Linked DNA regions of Homo sapiens: all the other regions are linked to region 2. Evidence: promoter capture Hi-C in human tissues and cell types (Jung and others, 2019). All regions are on one chromosome and are shown on one strand. The core of a region is centred on a gene start or on the middle of the fragment in contact, and the rest is flanking DNA. Distances in the headings are between cores, read along the strand shown. Region 1 overlaps PRORP (protein only RNase P catalytic subunit). Region 2 holds the start of CFL2 (cofilin 2). Region 3 overlaps RALGAPA1 (Ral GTPase activating protein catalytic subunit alpha 1).

Evidence for each region. Contacts are between HindIII fragments. The study calls those that stand out against the background at their distance.
Region 1: a fragment that was not itself captured here is called in contact with the fragment with the promoter of CFL2 in region 2 in 1 of the 25 tissues and cell types used here (mesendoderm cells).
Region 3: a contact is called between a fragment that was not itself captured here and the fragment with the promoter of CFL2 in region 2, in 1 of the 25 tissues and cell types used here (spleen).

Annotation. Positions count from the first base shown.
Region 1 is chr14:35,236,523-35,239,907 of GRCh38, reverse strand. All of the region lies in intron 5 of PRORP (protein only RNase P catalytic subunit), which reads right to left. The region is part of intron 5 of PRORP-PSMA6 (PRORP-PSMA6 readthrough); the gene reads right to left. Among named protein-coding and RNA genes, the nearest start is that of PSMA6, 54 kb to the left of the region's middle. The HindIII fragment of the contact is 8,663 bases long and covers 1-3,385 here.
Region 2 is chr14:34,713,197-34,716,436 of GRCh38, reverse strand. CFL2 (cofilin 2) reads left to right here and starts at 1,844. Exons shown (of 4, transcript NM_138638.5): 1 at 1,844-1,899; 2 at 2,876-3,183. The coding sequence starts at 1,897. RefSeq lists silencers at 1,408-1,997, 2,088-2,147. The HindIII fragment of the contact is 13,048 bases long and covers 1-3,240 here.
Region 3 is chr14:35,688,008-35,691,552 of GRCh38, reverse strand. RALGAPA1 (Ral GTPase activating protein catalytic subunit alpha 1) reads left to right here. Exons shown (of 42, transcript NM_001346249.2): 18 at 1,550-3,094. Among named protein-coding and RNA genes, the nearest start is that of SNORA101B, 73 kb to the left of the region's middle. The HindIII fragment of the contact is 3,538 bases long and covers 382-3,545 here.

The DNA of each region.
Region 1 (3,385 bases), core at 1-2,500, 520 kb before region 2:
AGACAAGGTTTCACCATGTTGGCCAGGCTGGTCTCAAACTCTTGACCGCAGGTGATCTGCCCGCCTCTGCCTCCCAAAGTGCTGGGATTACAAGCATGGGGCACCGTGCCCAGCCAACTTTTCTAATTTATTCTATAGAGGCCAGAGCAGAAGACCCTTGGTTTTCTTTAGTTGTACAGGGCAGGACAGTTCATGATTTGGCATGACACTGGTATGGCTTCATTCACAGAATGCTTGCAGGCAACGTCTGAAATGCCAAAGAAACAATGTGTCATGTACATGTAACCTGTCAAAGGTCACGAGAATCTTGTTTCTAAAATTTAGACCAGCCATCTAATTTTATGAACACTATACAGTAGTCTGTTCTTGTTCTTCACCAGCTCGTTGCCTGATCTAATAAACTCTTAATTATAAGCTGGTATTCAAATGCTGAGGAGAAAAGGGGCTCCACCTTGATCATGTACTTTGAAAAAATATTGTTTGTTTTTAGGGAAGCAGACATCTCTGGAGAAAGCATAGGAAGTGGATTTAGTGTAGTTTGTTTTTTTTTTTTTTTTCTTGAGACGGAGTCTTACTCTGTCACCCAGGCTGGAGTGCGGTGTTGCAATCTTGGCTCATTGCAACCTCCGCCTCTGGGTTTTCCTGCCTCAGCCTCCCAAGTCGCTGGGATTACAGGCACCTGCCACCACACCTGGCTAATTTTTTTGTATTTTTAGTAGAGACGGGGTTTCACCATGTTGGCCAGGCTGGTTTTGAACTCCTGACCTCAAGAGATCCGCCCGCCTCGCCTCCTAAAGTGCTAGGATTATAGCCGTGAGCCACCACCACACCTGGCCTAGTGTAGTGTTTTGAGAGCTGTTACCTCTGGGCAAGTCACAGCCTTTTAAGCCAGTTTCCTTATATGTAAAGTAAGAAAAATACAACACTTAGTCCATAGGGATGTGTGAGGATCAAATCACTTAATATTAATGAAAGGACTCTATAAGCTGTAAAAGACTACGTGTTGTTATTGTTAGGCTGTAAAAGCACAATGTCATACATTTATATATAGCCTTGTGATGCCTTAAAAAAGCTTTGATATGCCTTACTTCATAGGACTGCTTAAGCACAGTGTCCAGCTTTAATAAGAGTATTTGGTTTCTGGCCCTTCAGATAAAATGCAGAGAAAAAAAGACGTGTTAACTTAGAATGGCTATGTGCACTGTATTTAAAGAGTTTTGTTTGTTTCACTTAATGAATCTTAATCTTAAAAAGGTTAAGATTTTAAGAGAATTAAGAGGTTTAATGACAACAGAGTTGACATATTTTTCCCAAAGTCCTAGACTTTCATTCCTTTAAGCACATTCTTTTCCTCTTTTTTAGATTCCACTGTCATCACTTTAGTTCAAGATGTCATTAGGTCTTTTGGTTGGTCTTTCAATGCTGTTTCTCCTGTGACATTGCCAGGTTAACTTTCCTACAACCTGGCTTTCTTTGTGTCATTTTCCTATACATACTCATCCTCCAAATCCTAATTTCTGGCATTGGTAGGCTGTCCAAACCTACAGGTGTAAACAAATCCAGAGAACTACCCAGTGAGGGGCGGTCTAGATATGTGGGTTTGGGAATTACAAATGCATACCACAGGGCATGATAGTGCGGCACGGTAAAAGACCACAGACTTTGGTGTCAGATTGGCATTTCAATTCTGAATCTGTTACTTTTATTAACGATTCAGGGAAGTGACTTAATTGCACCTCAGTTTTCTCATTTGTAAAATGAGAATCTAATTTCTTCATAGGATTGTTTAAGCACAGTGCCCACCTTTAATACAGTGTTTGGTTTCTGGCCCTTCACATAAAACGCAGAGAAAAAAAAAAAAGATGTGTTAACTTAGAATGGCTATGTGCACTGTATTTAGAGTTTTGTTTGTTTGACTTAATGAACAGATATTATATCTAATTTAAAAATTTAAGGCCAGGCACGGTGGCTCATGCCTGTAATCCCAGCACTTTGGGAGGCCGAGGTGGGTGGAGCACAAGGTCAGGAGATCAAGACCATCCTGGCTAACACAGTGAAACCCCGTCTCTACTAGAAATACAAAAAAAATTAGCCGGGCTTGGTGGCATACGCCTGTAGTCCCAGCGGAGGCTGAGGCAGGAGAATCTCTTGTACCCGGGAGGCAGAGGTTGCAGTGAGCCGAGATAGCACCACTGTACTCCAGTCTGGGCAACAGAGCAAGACGCTGTCTCAAATAAAAAATAGAAGTTTAAGAAGGTGAAAAGGCAAAATTGGAAAGGGGAACTATAAATATTTTAATATATTCAGATATCTCCCTAGTCAAAACATTAACTGTAAATTGATTTAAGTTACATGGTCATTTTTGCCTGTGGAAGAGGATAGATTTGAAAGAAACAAAACTGAAGATGAGAAACCAGTTAGGAGGCTATGATAGGGATTTAAGCAGGTACTAACAAGGATCTGATGAGAAAGATATGGTAAAAGAAGAAGAGAAAAGAATGGATTTGAGAAACAGAGCTGGGCATAGTGGTTGATGCCTGTAACCCCAGCACTTTGGGAGGTCTAGGTGGGAGGATCGCTTGAGTCTGGGAGTTTGAGATCCGCCTGGGCAACATAGGGAGACTTTGTCTCTACGAAAAATTTAAAAATTAGTTGGATGTGGTGGCGCACGTCTGTGGTCCCAGCTACTCAGGATGCAGAGGCAGGAGGATCATTTCAGCCTAGGAGGTCAAGGCTGCAGTGAGCTGTGATGGCGCCACTGCACTGTAGCCTGGGTGACAGAGCAAGACTCTGTCGAGAGAGAGAAAGAGAGAGAGAGAGAGAAGGAAGGAAGGAAGGAAAGGAAGGAAGGGAAGGAAAGGAAGGAAGAGAAGGAAGGAAGAGAAGGAGGGAAGGAAGGAGTGAAGGAGGGAAGGAGGGAGGGAGGAAGAAAGGAAAGAAAAGAAAGAAAAGAAAAATGAAAGAAAGAAGGAGAAAGAGAGAGAAAGAAAGAAGATGAGAGAGAGAGAGAAATAATTAGGAGGTAAAATTGGCAAGACTTGGTGAACATTTGGTACCACCTATTGGTGTAGATGTCTGGCAGGAAGATGGCAAGTTCAGTTTTGGACATACAGTATTTAGTTTCAAGTACCTGTCTAAGGTAAAGATGCAGAGATAGAACATCAGAGAACACCAACATTTAAGGAGTAAGAGAAGGAAGGGAAGTTCAAAAACAAGAGAGAACAAGGAATGGTCAGAGAGTGTAATGAGAAGGATAAGAATGTGAAGTCACAGAATTCAAAGACATAGACAATTTCAAGAAGAAAGGAATCTATAAAGTATTAAATGCAGAAAAAGAGTGATAAAGACTAAAATATGTTCATCAAAACTGGCAATTAGGAAGTTA
Region 2 (3,240 bases), core at 595-3,094:
CTGCTACTGGCCCTGACATTCTCAGTGCCATGCTCACAAGGGCATGTAGAAAGGCTTCACAATTTTCAGAAGCTTCCTTTTCATTCTCTTTACAGCACTAAAGCATCTTAAATGTATTATTTCAGCACCTATTAAGCACCTACTATCTGTCAGGTTCCAGAAATTCAAAGATAACCAGGACTCAGATCCTTAAGGAGCTTACAGCGCAGTAGGGTGGCAGAAGACATAAACAAGTTATTATAATGTAACAAAATATATGCAAGACAAAAATAACTTCAGGAAAAGAATCTTAGAACATGTGAATTACCATCTCTGTTTGGGGAGGGTAAGAGAGAATGGGAGGCATGGAAAGGGGTTGGAGTCCGAGCTAGGGGGTGACTAGCATCTTTGGAATCCCCAGCTTTGGTGGGTAAGGTTCTGACACCCACTTTAGGCCCCAGTGTCATCAGACCTGGTCTCTGCTGGGGCTGCTGCAAATCTCTGAGGTTGGGAAGGGAAGGTAACCGCAAGATGAAGCGAACAGGAATTTGCTAATACCTACACATAGCAGATGATCAGAGCTCTGGAGAGACATTCTCCATGACTTCTTGGAAGTTCAACAGATAAAGTGAAAGGTTCCATAAATTGTAATGTACCAGCTAGATATAAAGTATTATCCACTTGCTTGGGATTCATGCTTAGACATTGGGAAATCCCTTCTCAATTTTTGTCTCTAAACGAAGTCTATCTTCCAATTAAGAAAACAAACCCAAGATATAGACAGAAAAATAGGTCTGTTTCAATGCCTAGCATGTTCCATTTAAAATACAGTAAATTTGGGCTGAAAGAACTTATCACGCAATCTAGGGCAAACACCATCTCATGACTTTCCTGCCTAACCTCAATCCTGAGACCACCAAAAACACACCATTTCCTACTGAACATTGATATACTCAGAAACTGAAATCTAAAGCTGGAAAGGGCCTTAACGATAATTTAATAACAGTTTGTTTTACACATGAAGAACCCTGAGGTATGGAGGAGTTAAGATTAAAAAAAGAGAAACTGCCTTGGCGCAGTTATATGGGCTTTGCTAGAAGAGGCTGCGTCGGCTTATTTGATATCAGCTGTCATAGCTGGAGCTTCATGAAATCTCTAAGAGAGAGTACAATCCATTTCCTATGAAGTCTAAAATGTAAAAGGATATTACTAAGGAATGCTACCACGTAATTTTTTAATCATAATTATTATTTCAACCAGAGTTTTGAAAAGTGATTTACCAACACTGCGTATCATTTTGTTTTTGCTAAGTACTATCAACTGGAGCAATCTCGTGTAGTATTTATTCTCATTTATCTCTAAACAACTGGGGGTTTTCCAAAAAGACTCAAAATGTCGAAATCCAGCCTCTTTCGGGAAAACCACAGGTAAATAAGGAAAGACACCTTCGCAGGAGTTCCCCTCACACGCACCCACCCCTGGCGCAGGGCCCTACGGAGGCGGTGGAAACGCCCCTCTGGGAGCCCAGCACTCTCTCCCACCGGCTTGACGGGTGATGCTCGGGGGCTGGAGGCGGCTCTGCCAGGCTCCCGGGCTCCGCTACCACCGCGTCGCCCCCCCCGGCCTGCAGGGCTCGCGCTCTGAGGTCAGGCCGAGGACGCGGACAGCCGGGGAGCCGGGGCCGCGAGACAGAAGGGCCGGCCTGGGAGCGGGTGGCGCCGGCTGGGGACCAGGCGTGCCCACGTGACCGCCCCGCCCGCTGCCTGCGGCCCGCCGAGCCCCGCCACCTCCCTCGGGCTGCAGCTCCCGGCGTGCCCCGCACTCTCCGCTGCCCACCCGCTCGCCCGCCCCTCCTTCTCCTCCCAGTGCCACAGAGCCGAAGCCCGAGCTGCCGCCGCAGCCACAGCCGAGGGCACTATGGTAAGACGAGCGCGCTGGCCGGGAGGCCGCGGCGAGGCGAGAAAAGCCCCCCGCACGGCCCCGGGAGTGAGGCCGCCATTTTAACCTGATTTTGGCCTCCAAGGTGGGCGCTTCTGCTCTGCGGCTCCGCTGCTCTCCAGCCGACCGGCCTGCCCTCCGGCCGTCAGGCCCTGCCCTGCTGCTCTTTGGATTTTGGGGGGCGGGGAGGGCCCGGGCGTCGGCGCAGGTTGGGGGTCGGGGCCGGGCGGGCGGGGGCGCGAGAGGGTCTGCGGACTGCAGCCGCTCGCGCCGCCTTTGCCCTTCGCTTCCTAATTTTACTTAACACGCGAGGCTTTAAAATTGGTACGTGCTGCGAACGCTGTGTGGGTCAGGGTCTGGACGGCCTGTAATAAAACCCTTACGGGGAGATTAAGGAAGAGGGAAAACACTTTTTAAAATGCTTTCTCGCCGTAAAAGCTTTTACACTCGATCAGTTAGTTTTGGAGTGTCTGCATGTGAGCTGTGTGTGGGCCGTGGGCGGTTTGGAGTTTACACTTGATTCTCTTTCCTTATGAGGAAACGTCAGTGGCTAGGATGACTTTAAAGAAAAAAATAGTAGAAGCATTAACTGAAATCCAAAAGTGTTTTTTTAAGGCCAGCCGAGTTGACACAATACAGAAGGTATTTTTGCTGCCACTCCTGAAGCTCTGACATCACCCAGTGAAATAGGAAACATTTCAGGGATGGGACAACTTGTATTTGTCCCTTTCGCTTCCACGTCCAAACCCCTTTAAGAAGGATGAATGGGCAGGATGAGTTAGACTCCTTCGCTGTATCGTCTACTGATTCTTAAAATGTGACAAATCTGATTGGACGACTTACATGGTACGGTGCAATTTTTGATGTCCAGACTAAAGTGAGTCTTCTCTAGGCAAACAGTAATTTTGGTTAAAACCAAAATACGTGTTCTGAATTACTGTTCTGTGTTTATTTTCAGGCTTCTGGAGTTACAGTGAATGATGAAGTCATCAAAGTTTTTAATGATATGAAAGTAAGGAAATCTTCTACACAAGAGGAGATCAAAAAGAGAAAGAAAGCAGTTCTCTTCTGTTTAAGCGATGACAAAAGACAAATAATTGTAGAGGAAGCAAAGCAGATCTTGGTGGGTGACATTGGTGATACTGTAGAGGACCCCTACACATCTTTTGTGAAGTTGCTACCTCTGAATGATTGCCGATATGCTTTGTACGATGCCACATACGAAACAAAAGAGTCTAAGAAAGAAGACCTAGTATTTATATTCTGGTGTGTAAAAACAAAAGAAAAAAGTACTTTTAAAATGCAAGGATTATTATTATCATA
Region 3 (3,545 bases), core at 901-3,400, 970 kb before region 2:
CTTGGACAAGTCACTGCTTTGCTTCTGGATCTAAATTTTCTCATTTTGATTGTTCAGTTATAGTTCTGTTGCATTTAACTTTTGTGCAAGAAGCCTAATAAGTAGCAACAGCTGACTTTTTGACTCTGTCCTTTCTTCATTATATTTTGCTGACTTCTGAAAACAATTTTTTTTTGTTATTTCTAGGTAACTTACAGACCATGATGGATTCATAGACATTGTATTTTGCTTCCACAATTCCTGTTGAGAATTTGTATATATCTGAACAGTTAAATGGTTATTTCATCCTGACACTGAAGGCAGTGAAAATAATGCAGTGATATGCAACACTAAGCCTGTTTCTCAAACTTTTTTATTGTAAATTTGATAAAGTAACTTAACCTCTCTGGGCTTCAATTTTCTCATCTGTGAGATAGTTAAATTAGATAATCTCTGAATGTCCATCTATAATAATAATAATAATTATTATTATTATTATTATTTGAGACGGAGTTTTGCTCTTGTTGCCCAGGCTGGAGTGCAGTGGCATTATTTCGGCTCACCGCAGCCTCTGCCTCATGGGTTCAAGCAGTTCTCCTGCCTCAGCCTCCCAAGTAGCTGGAATTACAGGCATGCACCACCACGCCCGGCTAGTTTTGTGTTTTTAATAGAGATGGGGTTTCTCCATGTTGGTCAGGCTGGTCTTGAACTCCCGACCTCAGGTGATCTGCCCACCTCAGCCTCCCAGAGTGCTGGGATTATAGGTGTGAGCCACCGCGCCCAGCCTATAATTCTTAAAAAGAGATGTAAGAAGCCAGAAATATAGTTTTTAGAGCTTGATGGCTGTTTAATGGAAAGGGCCAATAACAGGCAGGTAAAGTTTCTTCCTAGCAGATTTAAGTGGTGTTTTTGCCAAAAACAAAAGAATACAATTGATTTTTTAAAAAATATATTGACTTTATTTGATGTCAGTGAATAAGATTTTAATACGTAATAAAGTAAAACACCTGGGGAGAACAGTTTCCTGACAAAGAGAAATTTAGGAAGAGGGTAGAGACTTTCATTTCTAATATGTAATCAAACAGAGAAGCAAAATTTGAAGAAAAGATGCCTCTTGCCTTTTTGGGAAGGAAGCTGGAGAATTTATTAGACCCTATAAGAGTCTACAGTGGGATACTTGGATCGGCTTTCTGTGTTAAGGTGTATTTTTTCTGCTTGGAACGTAAATAAGTAGGAAAAATTTAATAGCATTTGAGTTGCTTGATTTATTGGCACAGCTCTATCTTTATCTGCACTTCCAAATGTTTCATCACCTCACTGTCTGTTTCTATGCATGTTAACATTTTAAAATGTGTTTTGGTAGTTTTCTAATTCATTGACACTACATGCTATATTGGCTTGTGCCCATCATTTTTTTAAAAAAGCAGATTTGTATTTTGATTTTTTTTTCATTGAGCTTACAAAAACTCAGATTTTTTTTAAAGCATATGCTTTAGAGCATTATTGAAATTAATAATTATTTTTTATATTTGTGTAGTTCTTCTCTACATAATTTTTTTTTCTTTTACAGATATTGATGATGCTCAAATACTTCCCCGCTCAACTAGAGTCAGACATTTTTCACAAAGTGAAGAAACTGGAAATGAAGTTTTTGGTGCTTTGAATGAGGAGCAGCCATTGCCTCGAAGTAGCAGCACTTCTGACATCTTGGAACCATTCACTGTTGAACGAGCCAAAGGTGCAGTTCCTGTCATTGACAGTTCATCCCGTCATGCACCAAGCTTGCAGAGTTCCACAGAGGCTTCTTCAATAACTAGATCCACTGAAAGCCACATCACTGATACTCATAGTAGAGAGTCTTCTCTGGAAGTTGGTGATAGCATATATGACCATCTTTGTCATTTAATAGGTCCAGTAGAACTTGCAGATTCAGCTTTTGAACAAATCCAGTACATTGACCTTGAAGGAGATGATGATCTTCTTTCCACCCTGAAAGAATATTTTAAGGAAAACCAGGAAAATCATAGTAAAAATGAGACAGGGAAAGACCCAGCTTCTCAGGAAGTGACTATTGCAGTAAATAGGGGTGAAAGATTATCCTTAGATAAATTAGAATGCACAGATCAGGAAACTGAATCAGAAAATATCACCTCTTTTGTTGGGACTCCTGAAAACCTACAGTTTCAGAAAGAACCAAACTCAGCTGTCTTCATGAGTAATATCGCACCTAACCAGTCAGACAGTTTTTTTAGAACACAAACTTCTGAAAAATCTAAGCAACTAAACACTGATAAACAGCCATCAGAGCCTAGTTTAGATAGCCCTTGTGATAAAGAAAAAAGGAAACATCTGTACAGACAAGCAGCCACAGAATTAGATGCTTGTGTTGATGTAACACTAGTTGAAAAGCTTAAGAGTGTGCAAATTAATGAAAAAATCACTGTCCCACATGTTATGCGTGCCAAGAAAGCAACACTAAAAGCACCTGTTAACCGCAGAATGCCTCATGTTACAAGTACTAGCAAACTTTCTCCAACTAAAAGGAGCTTGTCTGAAACAGTAACTCATAGAGCCAAAATCATGAAAATTGCTACTAAAAAACGAAATAGTGTTCATGTTACTTTTAGGCCATCCACTGAGTCCGTTCAGTTTTATAATCCTCTGGAAAACAAAGAGGCTCCATGGAAGATGAGACTGCGGAAGCTCGGTGGCTTTAGTAGTGGTAGCAGCAATAGCAGCACTAGCAACACCCATACCAGCACAAATAGTGCTACAGAGCTAGTAAAACCTGGTGTGTACAGACCTCTAGATACACTTGGTACTGCATCAGTAAGCAGCAAAACAGTGAAGGAATCCACAGAGATTCCCACCACCATATTACAAAAAGAAGGAATTGCAAGTAGTCAATTAGGTAGTCGTAGTACTCTTAGGTCATCAAGTCATGAGGCAGGACTACAGCAGGGCTCCCTGGGTGGCGTTTATAAAACTGTTGTACATGCTCTTTCGAAGCCGAAGGCAAATGTTTCCCCACAGAGGCAGAACAGAATGCCACCAGAGGCTCCACTGAGGGATCTGTACAGTCATGTAATGGGCTATTTTGGAAGGAAAGCTGCAGGTGAGCACTAACAGTGTGCAGAGCGCAAAAGGAGAAAGACAGCACCAGTTTGGCTTAATGCAACTGAAGCAAGCTATAAGCAATCAAAAAGCTTTGGGATGGTCACTGCTTTCTCTCTGTTTGGTTATGCATGCGCCTTTTCCCAGCTGTATTTTTCCCAGCATAGAATGTTTATTTAAATTACTAATTTCCCTTATAAGGCATTTAGTTAAACCTCTTTGCTGCTGAACAACAACATAGGAAAGTGGATATATAGGAAAATTTCAATAACCTATCAAAGACTACCTAAATCAAGTATTTTTCTGAGTGTATACCACAAGTATGGAAATTAAGATTATCAAGGAGTTACTATGCTTTCTTCCCCACCCCACTATAGTTTAAAAGGGCACCAGATATATCTAACTGATTTCACTTATTTTTACTGCTGATCTATTTGGTTTTGTATTTTTTC